Linked DNA regions of Homo sapiens: region 2 is linked to region 1. Evidence: promoter capture Hi-C in 16 types of primary human blood cells and fetal thymus (Javierre and others, 2016). All regions are on one chromosome and are shown on one strand. The core of a region is centred on a gene start or on the middle of the fragment in contact, and the rest is flanking DNA. Distances in the headings are between cores, read along the strand shown.

Region 1 (5,978 bases), core at 1,535-4,034:
TGGCCTAATACTGTACTTTTTGTGAGTCAGTTTAAAAATGAGTGTAAGCTAATAAGTAAATATGCATAGCTTCAACTAAATGATTTTTATGGACTGTAGCAGAGGACCTGGCTTGTATTTTCTTAATGGTTTCATGTCTCATGCCAAGGCCATCATATGCAAAGAGACATCTGAAAAAAAGTTGATGTTTATTGCCAAAGAAGTACTTAAACTGACTGTAATGAAGATGTTAAAGAGCTTCAGAGAAGCTGTATACTATTTCCGTGGGCTGACCACAGACACACTTTAAATCAAAGGCCAGCTGATCATTGGACTTAGGGTGATTTTTAAAACACTTTCTTTTTTTATCCAAGTTTTTATTCAATTCCCTTGACTTATTTCAGTTTAGAATTTGACTTCTTATTATCCTTATAGTAATCCTGAAAAAATTACCAAGAATAAAAAATATCATAACTACTAACATAACTAAGTCCACAGGATATTAGAACTGCAAAGATACCATATAGCTAAACCTCTTTATTTACAGGTGATGAAACTGAAGTCTGAGAGGTTAATTATTCATCCATCTAACAAATATTTATTGAGTTTCTACTCTGATATCATTTAGATCCTTACTATGCTAATAACCATACATAAATATGGCAGTAAACATTTAGAAATTTAAACGTTTAGTGTCTCTATCAACAGCTATAAGAGTAAAATTTTAGATGTTACCGGCTTGCCCAAGGTTGCATATCCATTAAACAGAGGAAGCAGGGTTAAGACCCAGGGAGTCTGACTCCAGTAATACTTCCTGTCTTGCCATGGGATACACCTATGGTTCTTGAATCCAAAATGCAGAAATATGAATCTTACAGGAGAATGAGGCCCTACCATTTACAGAATGTGATGTCTTCCTTTACAGATGAAATTTAGTTCTTCTGGTGAAGAGGACAATGGCTGGGTAGGAGCTTATGCCCACACCTAATGGAAACTTATCCTTGACCTGCGTGGCTACTGGCCCAAGATAAAGATTACTTGGAGCAGCCCACCACAGAATCAGCTCCAAGATATGGGGGAAGTACTTGGACACCATAGTGAACAAAACAGAGATGGTCCCTGCCCTCATGGGGCCCACAGTTTATTTGGGAAGACAGGCAATGTACAAGTAAATTCTCAAATATTTTATGATTTGTCTTGAATTTTTAAACTTAAACCTTCTCCAGTTTTAAAATAGCATGGAAGCAAAAATCAAAATGGAGTGGAGCAGATCACAAAATTGTAACTCTTCTCTAAGGACCAGTATGACAGCCTAGGACTGAGACCTTGCATCTTTTTTGGAGGTCAGTTCTGACAGCATCCTTTGATTGAAGAGGGATTTGGAAACTTTGGCCTGTCATGGCCTTTGATGGTTCTTAAATAGCCACATCTAGTTGGCTTTTTGTGGAATAACATGTTCAGAGACATAACCACCACTCACTTTCAGTAGAAAGAGCAAAACCACTAACATGTATAATGAATAGCAGCTCCTGGCCTAGGAAACTCACTAAGTCTTGGAATTCAGGAACCAGAGAGGAAACCCTGAAGCCTCTCAGGTGATCTGGATTGACACCAGACATCTGTGACTCTATCAAAGCTTTGTACAGAATTCAAGGCATGGACATAAAAGTGCTTTAAGTTGTAAGACATTAGCAGAATAAGATACGGGATTTCATGAACATTATTTAGCCATATAGACATTTTAAGATAATCAGTGTTAGTCCTAGCTGCAAATATGTTCCCTATTTTTTTTTAGCATTCCACAAAATTCTCATTCTTTTAATTATCTCCCTTTGCTGCTAGGACCTCCTTAAGGCTTTCATCTGGTTCACACTAGGCTGGGAAGAAAAGATGTAGAAGTTCTTGGCCTGGCCCTGGCCTTTTCTCCTTTATCCTTTGCTATTTCCTGTCTCCTGTTTCTCTACAGAAGTAAATCATGTTGACATATCCCCAAAGAGTACGGGCTGTAGTATGGAAGAAATATAGAAACAAGGGACAGCTGAGACAGATGCACATAAAGAGGAATATGACCCACTTTATATTTATGTATTTATTATGTTGTTAAACAAATAATGCTTTATTAATACAAGTACACACAAACTCCAAAGCACTAAGAAATTTAAATATCTATGTCATAGCAAACAGCTGGCAATTCAACATCCAGGGTCGACAGAATGCTTGAAGGAGACTGCAAACAGATTGCATTCCCATGGTGGAGAGGGCATTTTCACAGGTGAAGGGGGGCCCAGCTGAAACAGCTTTTCAAGCTCTCCCTCCTCATCAAGGATCATGAGAGGCACTCCACTCAAGGGGAGGTGTGCAATCTGGCGCTCTTCAGGCAGGTCAAAACTCTCAAAGTCTAGAAGATTGAAGGGAAAGAATTTTTCTATTTCTGGATAGGCGTCATCTGAGGCAGGAACAGAACTTTTTGTTTTAACAGTCTTCTCGGTCATCTTTTTGGCAGAAAAGCTTGGCTGTTTTTGTTTTCTGGGTCCATTGGTCTTTACTGACTTTTCTGTAGCTCTGTTGACAGTGCCCAAAGCCTTTCTGGTAGCTTTAGGTAAGGCTGATGGAGCATCGTATGTTTTGCCAAAACGTCGTGTTAAAACTTGAGATATCCCATCTAATGCTTTGATTGAAGGTCTAGACTCCAGCTTCAGCACATCCTTGGCAGCCACACGGGTGCCTGGTTCTCCAATTTCCTTATCAACGTAGATCAGAGTAGCCATTCTGGATTATTGCCGCTCTCAACAGCCACATTCATCTAAGACCGTGGTCCCACTTTATATTTAGATAGAATGTTAACTATAGTGGAAATTGGTGTAATATCTAATTTTTGTGCCTAGCACATCATCTGAGAGTTAGCATGAACTCATATAAAGAGCACAGGCCTGAGGTCAGACAAACCTGGGTAGGAATCTCGGGAGTACCACTTTCTGTTAGCTGTAAGATTTGGGCAAGTTAGCTAACATCCAAGCCCTATTTCCACATCCATAAAATGGAGGTAAAACCCAACTCTTACACATTGTTAAATGGTCAAAAACCACTTAGGTAAAGGGCAGAGCAACCAATAAATAAATAGTTTCTGCCGTTATTGCATTTTCTAATTTATAATGTACTTTTGCATACATTATTTCACTTCTTACTAACCTTTAATAAATGCAAGTCTTCCATTTTTTACTAAAGCAGCACCCCTGAAGTTTCTCTAAACTGCAAAATGCTCAAATGTTTCATCCCGAGTTATCCCTTTTGCCAACTCTGATCTACTGGTGGCAGACAATCCAGCATGCAGTGGTGGGGAGAGCCGAGAGGCCCTCTCTGAGCAACGTGACTACTAATGGTGCTTGCTTGGGCAGGAATACTGGACTATGGCAATGACTATATACCTTTGCCAACCCAACCCCAATCTAGTCCAGGCTATTGATTCACAGCAGCAAAGGGTCACTTCTGTTTCTAAGGCCTAGAGATAAGTTGAGGGCACTTTTGCAGTGAGCCATTTCAATTCAATGATAAATATTCTTGTTGTCTAATTCATTCTATGAATCTTTGACCCAGTGACATATGTGCGTACGTATTTGAGCCCATATGCAAAAATATACAGTTGAGTCTTGAACAATACAGGATTGAGTCGCATGGATCCACTTGTTCTCAGATTTTCTTCTGCGGCTGCCACCTCTGAGACTGCAAGACCAACCCCTCCTCTTCCTCCTCCTCCTCAGCCTATTCAACGTGAAGACAATGAGGGTGAAGACCTGTATGATGATCTATTTCTACTTAATGAATAATGCAATATGTTCTCTTCCTTATGATTTTTCTTAATAACATTTTCTTCAGCTTACTTTATTGTGAGAATACAGGATATAGTGCATAAAACATACGAAATATATGTTAGTCGACTGTGTTATTGGTGAGGTCAACGGAAGACTATCGGTTAAGCTTTTTGGGAGTCAAAGGTTATAGGTGGATTTTCGACTATGCAGGTGATTGGCGCCCCTAACCCTCACATTGTTCAAGGGTCAACTGTGCCTGTTTATTTGCATAAGGCCACCTCAAATACAAAGGGCCATTCAAAGGTATCATTAGAAGTCTTGCTCTTAACCTGACACAGCTAGCTAGAAAGTGACAGAGCCATGACTTGGACCTGGTATATCAACTGATTGATGTAACCTCTATATGGAGCTTGTAAATTCAAGTGCCACCCAGAGTCAGTGAGGGAATGTAAATATATGATGTGCCAGTGGAAGACAATGGGGAACGGGGAGACTGGTGGGGTAGAGTGTGTGTGCCAATCTGCAGGCATTCCAATTGAATTGTTTTTCTTCAAACACTATGGTAGGCAACTTTTACAATAAAGTTTGCAGGCCACCTGTCTGTAATCCTGTCTCATTATACCATTAGCAGGAATTATTATTAAACAACTTCTTTCAACTCTTCCGACACATTCATTTTTTATTAACAGCCTTCTAATAGTACTCTGAATTGGGGCAGAAATAATTAAAGTAAAAGATGTCATATATGTGTCCTAAAGAAGGGACAAATAAAGGAGGTCTAGAGGTGTGAAAGCAAATCTAATCCAGGAACACTTTCTGGAGGAGGTGGCATTTGAGCTAGGAGAGATGGAATGCTTAAGTAAGAGAAGGAGCTAGGAGAGACGGAATGCTTAAGTAAAAGAAGAGGAAATCTCCCCAGGCAAAAGAAACAACAATGAACAAAACAGAGGAAAGCATGGCTACGAGGAAAAATTAACTGTCCCATTTTGCTGGAAAATAGAGTACACCATCTTGGAACAAAAATAAAAAATATGAAGAATCATCTGGGACCAGATATGGTCAAGGTTCTTGATTGCCAAGCTAAGGAATCTGGTGTTTATTGGTTAGAGATGAAAATGGCCTGCTCAGAGAATGGGTTTTCTAGGAGATGAATCTGCTTTGTTGATCTTACAGACTCTTTCTTAATATGAAGCATACTTTTTTCCTAGACAACTTCAAATCTGAAAAATGTGTTACTATTCTTAGCATATGTTTTTGAAAGTAAACTTGGTCGCCATAAACGTATATGAGAAAAGGGGCATAAAAACTGGCAGCAAATCCAGTAACTGTAGCCATCTGTGTTTCTGTTGTTCTAAGCAGAGATCAACAAAAATAGCATTTTAAAAAACATATAAGTATGGTTGAAGTAATATTTTCCAGTGAAGCTTTCCACAAGTGGCTGCTGATAATTTTATCTGGTATTTTAAAATAAAATACACTACCTACAGGACACCATGAAAAACTATCATCTGTTGCATTATAAATGGAAGAATAAAAGGAAGGAAAGACAGAAGGGAGGGAGGAAAATGATATGTAGTTTGTCAGGAAATGTAAATCACATGTCAGAATTGACCTTTTAAAAAGTAATAATGAGCAATAAGAAAAACATCAAACAATCTGTTCTGAACTTTTATGAAAAAGTGGTGTAGGATAAAAATGGAGTTTGGAGTCAGAAAGACTGTTTTGGAATCTCAACTCTCTTCTCTTTCTATATTATTTATTTATTTGTTTTTATTTTTATTATTTTAAGAGATAGGACCTTGCTCTGTTGCTGAGGCTGTGATCATAGCTCACTGTAGCCTCGAACTCTTAGGCTCAGGCAATCCTCCTGCCTCAGCCTCCTGAGTACCTAGGACTACAGGCACGCACCCCCATGCCCAGGTAATCTTTTTATGTTTTGTAGAGAGGGGTCCTGCTGTGTTGCTCAGGCTGGTCTTGAACTCCTGGGCTCAAGATATCCTCCTGCCTTGGCTTCCCAAAGTGTTAGGATTACAGGCATGAGCCACTGTGCCCAGCAATACATATTCCTGTCAACAGATAAATTCCTTGTCTCTAAAAAGTAGTGTTATTTATTACTTTAATGATTGTGAAGAATGAAAACATGTGTCATATCAGGTATCATACATTTGTCTCTTTCCTTCTTTTGGAAAG
Region 2 (5,978 bases), core at 1,889-4,388, 380 kb after region 1:
CTCCTGCCTCAGCCTCCCCAGTAGCTGGGATTACAGGTGCCTGCCAACACGCCCAGCTAACTTTTATATTTTTAGTAGAGATGAGGTTTCACCATGCTGGCCAGGCTGGTCTTGAACTCCTGACCTCAGGTGATCCATCCACCTTGGCCTCTGAAAGTGCTGGGATTACAGGCGTGAGCCACCATGCCCGGCTGCTTCCATTTTTTTAAACCTCTAAGTTCGTAGTAATTTGCTGCAGCAGCACAGAAAACTAGTAACATCCCCAAATCACTTCATGCTTGAGGACCAAACCCCTTGTCCTTCCAACTCTTCCTGGGAGGACTCATGGAATGTAGAAGAGTCCCTCGGACCAGCCGTGCATCTCTTGCCACCCTCTTTCCTTACCGTGCTCCACCCTTCTTCAAGTCTAATTCTCAGCACTTAGGACAGCACCTGGTACAGAGCAGGCAGTCAATAAATGTGGAATGAATGAATGATTTAATGGCTATGGATTAAAAACGAGAGCACTATCAGTGAACCTGTTGTGTGTCTGCAACCAATCAAGACATTTCCAGTTTGTGCCAGCCGTGTCGCCCAGGTGTTATGAGGGTGGGCTCAGGAGACAGAAAACCCTGCTACTGTGGGACTTTGGGCCTCAGTCACTTGGCCTGTAGATGGGGATAATAATATTCCTACTATATAGTGTTGCTGGGGGTCATATGAGCAAACATTCATAATAAACATAGACCAGGGGTGTCTTAACCACCCCATTTGGATACAGCATATTAAAACACACCCCCCAAAAAGAAAAAGATGGAGGTCTAGTATCCAAGAAAGATATAATCTAGTTGCCAGAACCTATGCATACAAACAAGAGTATTAACAATGTCAAGTAGGACTTGTTTCTGGAATAAGGGCTACATGGTATATTTCTATCAACTGTGACACCAATTGAAAGATAGAAAACCCCAAGTACAACAACAGTCCCGTAGACAGAAAAATCGCTTTTGCTATGGAACTGTGTACACATGTGTAACATTGTACCTTTCAGAATACTCTTAAACTACCCCATTTCTAAAGCCCAGGATTTTATTCCCAGCCTCTACTCCTCCTTTACTTTCCTTTTCTGCTGATAATTCATAGATGAGCTGGATAAATAGGACAGGCGAGAAGAAGCACGTGCACCTCCTCCCCTCCCTCAACACCTCTCCTCACCCCTCTCCTTCCTCAACACCTCTCCTCTCCCCTCCCCTCCCTCAACACCTCTCCTCTCCCCTCTCCTTCCTCAACACCTCTCCTCTCCCCTCCCCTCCCTCAACATTTCTCCTCTCCCCTCCCCTCCCTCAATACCTCTCCTCTACCCTCCCCTCCCTCAACACCTCTCCTCTCCCCTCCCCTCCCTCAATACCTCTCCTCTACCCTCCCCTCCCTCAACACCTCTCCTCTCCCCTCCCCTCCCTCAACACCTCTCCTCTCCCCTCCCCTCCCTCAACACCTCTCCTCTCCCCTCCTCTCCCTCAACACCTCTGATCTCCCCTCCTCTCCCTCAACACCTCTCCTCTCCCCTCCCCTCCCTCAATACCTCTCCTCTCCCCTCCCCTCCCTCAATACCTCTCCTCTCCCCTCCCCTCCCTCAATACCTCTCCTCCACCCTCCCCTCTCCTCTCCCCTCCTCTCCCCTCCCCTCCTGACCCTCCCCCTCCACAATTCGCTCTGAAATCCTGACCCTTTTCATGCCTGCAATACTTTGTTTATCCTGGACTCTTTAAAAGCAAACCAACCAACAAACAACAACAACTAGTCAGGAGGATAGGTAGTAAAAAAAAAAAAAAAAACAAGTCAAAGAAAAGGAGAAAAGAGCTTAGAACTGTTTGAGAAACAAGGAAGGCAGACTGGATTGTAATAATGTAACTGAAGCAATCATAAAACATTACTCATTGAAACATCTCAGGTCAACTTTATGATGGTGAATTCAAGAGGTGTACAGGGGAAGGCGAAAGAAAGGAGGAAAGAAAAGAGGGAGGAAAGGCGAAGGAGGGCAAGAAGGCGAGGAAAAGCAGGCAGGCACATCCAGAGTGACACCTTGCACTCCCAGCTCCTCGGAGGCTGACCAAGATTGACCCTGGGGCACCCTCCATCCCCGCCTTCTGCTGCTATAGCCAAGACCACAGGAGCAGCCTGCACCGAATGAAGTGAGTGCTGAGATTTAACAGCCGTACTCGAAAACTGCCCCTTCCCTGCTTCTGAAGGAAATATACATCATTTGCGGCTTTTAGGCTCCCCTCCTTCCCCAGGAAAACCACAGGATCTATACTGTTCTTCCAAGCTGCACAATTACAAAGGATGTTGTGGTGGTTTTCCTCTTTCAGAATCAGGTTTCCAGTTTGGGTCCTCCCCGGCTTGCCTCCCATTAGGGCACACCACATGGGTTTCCTATAGACCTGGTCCCATACCTGAGGGTCATGCTTCCGCGCCTCTCCGGAGCTTGGCGGGGACAGCCTCTTCCTGGTTAGAGGTTCTGTCCTCTCTCACCTCGCCCTGAGTTTTCCTTCCCCAGCAACATTCCTTCTCTAGATCAGACGGACAGGCTCTAATGTCCAAGGTTGTGTGACTGCTGACGAAAAGGGTGGGGACTAATGTACTCACACCCAACCCCTGCATGCCTGTGTCTACAATTATTCTTCCTTATATGATGTGTCATATCAAATTTAATTCATTTCTTTTTTCATATGTCACTCCCACTTCTACATCTTGCATTTAGCAAGGACTTCTCCTAAGCCCAGGGGCAACAAGGAAATGCTCCGGGTCTAGCATGTGACACACAGCAATGAAAAAAATATGCTCTTTTGACGTAAGATTGGGTTCAAAATGAGCAGTCTATCAGCTGTCTTCCTTGCCTCCCTTTTGGCAACAGCTAGCTTAAAGGTAAGAATTCAGTTGTTGGGTACCCTTTATTACTGAGCAAAATCAAAATTTGCTTCCTCTTTGGAGCATAAAAAAGCAACAGGCAACAAAGGGAAAATCCTTCACAACCACTTCTTAGTTTACACAGGGGAAAAACAAACACCATTAGGATGGCTGTGTCCACCCAATGCTGCTGCCGCCTGCTTCTGCAGCCCTGTGTTGGGGGCTGACTCTGTTTTGTGTTTAAACAAGGCCAGGCTATCACGAGGTCAGGAGATCGAGACCATCCTGGCTAATACGGTGAAACCCCGTCTCCACTAAAAATAAAAAAAAATTAGCTGGGCGTGGTGGTGGGCGCCTGTAGTCCCAGCTACTCGGGAGGCTGAGGCAGGAGAATGGCGTGAACCTGGGAGGCGGAGCTTGCAGTGAGCCGAGATCGCACCACTGCACTCCAGCCTGGGCGACAGAGCGAGATTCCGTCTCAAAAAAAAAAAAACAAAAACAAAAACAAACAAACAATAAAAAAAGAAGGCCATGCTAATGCCATGTCAGTCATTGGTGAAGCCTCCTTGCTGGGAGGGTAGCAATGGAGGTAGGGGAAGGGCGAAGTCCAGGGAAGCCCAGGAGTTCTCCAGCCAGGCAGAGAAATTAACTGAGTATTCATTAGGAAGTCAAGGGCATATAGGAAAAGACTCAACCCATCTGGAAGCTGCCTTTAAATAGTGATAGCTTTGAAGAATGACAGGGACATTTTAAAAGGACACAGGAATCCACTTGTAGAAGTTTTACTGGCCAAATGTGGAACAACTGGAATATTAAAATAATTACTAATCTACAGCATTTGTAGCCAATTGAATAAAACAAGGACTTATGAGTCCACACTAAGATACATAAAGGGAAAGGGAACACTCTACCTTACAAGTAGGAAACCAGCTAACAAACATACGAGAAATACTGGAACTAGAAAAATCATTTGATAGCCATCATAATAATAGAAAAACCATTTGATAGCCATCATAATAATAATTGATGTCAGTAAGAAGTATCAATGGATGGTAGGACTAGTGGGTGAAATTTTGAGGAGGACAGGATATTTAGTCTTAAAGTAGCTCCCCCCCATATGATTAAGGACAAAATATTATCCTTACGTTGGAGAAACCCGGCATACAGCGCCTTAACCAAGTAATCAAAGGTAATAGTGCCATAATGAGACTAATCAATGGCATGTGGCTCCTGATAGGATGCACTGAGAACTTAGCCTCACTTCTGTGATTTCCTGACAAAAGAGCATACTCTGAGTTGAAACAACGAGGGATAGTCTGCAAAGCAACTGGCCTGTACTCTTAAAATAATGTAATGTTATGAAAAAGCAAAGAAAGACAGAAGAATGCTTCCAAATTCAAGGAGATTTAAGAGACATGACAGCCGATGCACTGCATGTCCTTCTTGCTAAAAGGTCGTTATTGACATAATTGGTAAAATCTGAATAAGGTCTGTAGATTAGGTAATCGTATTAAATTGATGTGAATTACCTGCTTTTGAACATTGTACTGGGGTTATATAAGAGAATGCTCTTGGGGAAGGGCAGAACAAGATGGCCAGATAGAAGCCTCCACTGATGTTCACTTCATTGCCCCACAGGAACACCAAATTTAACAACTATCATCTACACCAACAAGCACCTTTATAAGAACCAAAAATCAGGTACACAATCAGTGTACCTGGTTTTAACTTCATATTGCTGAAAGAGGCACTAAAGAGGGTAGTAGGAAAGACAATCTTGAACTGCCGCTGCCCATTCCTTGGCAGTGGCTGCATGTCGTGGAGAGAGCATCTGTGTGTTTGGGGGAGGGAGAGTACAGTGATTTGGGGACTTTGCGTTTGAACTCAGTGCTGCCCTATCAGAGCAGAAAGCAAAACCAGGCTGAAATCAGCTAAGCCACGACCCCCCAGCCTACCCACACACAGAGGGAGCATTTGGACCAGATCTAGCCAGAGGGAAATTATATATTCCAGTTGTTGGAACTTGAGTTTTGGCAAGCCGCACCACCATGGACTAAAGTGCTCTGCAATCCTAATACACTTGAAGGGTAGCCTAGGCCACAAGAACTGTGGTTCCTAGGCAAGATATCAGTACTGTGCTGGGGCCAGAGCCAGTGGACCTGGGGGGGCACCTGATCTACTGAGACACCAGAGTGGCTAAGGGAGAACCTGTGTCACGTGTCCCAAAACCCAGGCAGCACAGCTCACAGCAATGAAAGTGACCCCTTCCTTGTGCTTGAGGAAAAGACAGGGAAGAGTAAAGAGGACTTTGTCTTACACCATAGGATACCAGCTCAGCCACATTAGCATAGGGCACCAGGCAGAGTCATGAGGCCCCCATTCCAGGCCCCAGCTCCTAGATGACATTTATAGACACACCCTGGGCCAGAAGGGACTGCACTTCCTTGAAAGGAAGGACCAAGTCCTGGCAAGACCCATCACCTGCTGAGTGGAGAGCCCTTGGGCCCTGAATAACCAGCAGGAATACCCAGGTAGTACGCTATGGGCCTTGGGTGAGACTCTGAGATGTGCTGGTTTCAGGTGAGACCCAGCACATTCCTAGCTGTGGTGGCTATGGGGAGAGACTACTTCTACTTGAGAAAAGCAGAGGGAAAAGTAAAGTGGACTTTGTCTTGCACTTTAGGTACCAGCTCAGCCACAGTGGGGTAGAGCACCAAGCGAGCTCTTGGAGTCCCTAATTCAAGGCCTTGGCTCTTGGATGGCATTTCTGGATTTGCACTTGACCACAGGCAAGTCCACTGCCCTGAAGGATGTGTCCTAGGCCTGGCAGAACTTACTATAAACTGTCTGAGGAGCCCTTGGGCCTTAAGTGAACATCGGCAGTAGCCTGGCAATACTCTCTGTGGGCCTGTGGTAGTAATGGTGATAGGAAGAGGATCCTTTGCCTGGGAAAAGGGGAGGGAAGAATGGAAATGGCCTTGTCTTATGGTTTGAGTGACAGCTCAGCCCCAGTAGAATAGAGCACCAGGTAGATCTCTAAGGATTTTGACTTCAGTCCCTAGCTCCCACTTAGGGCCTGGGGTATCTTGTCA

What was found. Contacts are between HindIII fragments. The CHiCAGO score rates a contact against its expected background, and 5 or more counts as called.
Region 2: a fragment that was not itself captured here is called in contact with the fragment with the promoter of PTTG2 in region 1 in 1 of 17 cell types (neutrophils); the score reaches 5.6 in neutrophils.

The regions. Positions count from the first base shown.
Region 1 is chr4:37,957,204-37,963,181 of GRCh38, reverse strand. It overlaps PTTG2 (pituitary tumor-transforming 2), which reads right to left and starts at 2,784. Exons shown (of 1, transcript NM_006607.3): 1 at 2,054-2,784. The coding sequence starts at 2,747. The coding sequence ends at 2,172. The region is part of intron 2 of TBC1D1 (TBC1 domain family member 1); the gene reads right to left. The HindIII fragment of the contact is 1,467 bases long and covers 2,490-3,956 here.
Region 2 is chr4:37,580,843-37,586,820 of GRCh38, reverse strand. The region is part of intron 2 of PGCKA1 (PDCD10 and GCKIII kinases associated 1); the gene reads right to left. It also overlaps a transcript of RELL1 not described here. Among named protein-coding and RNA genes, the nearest start is that of RELL1, 100 kb to the left of the region's middle. The HindIII fragment of the contact is 7,650 bases long and covers 1-5,978 here.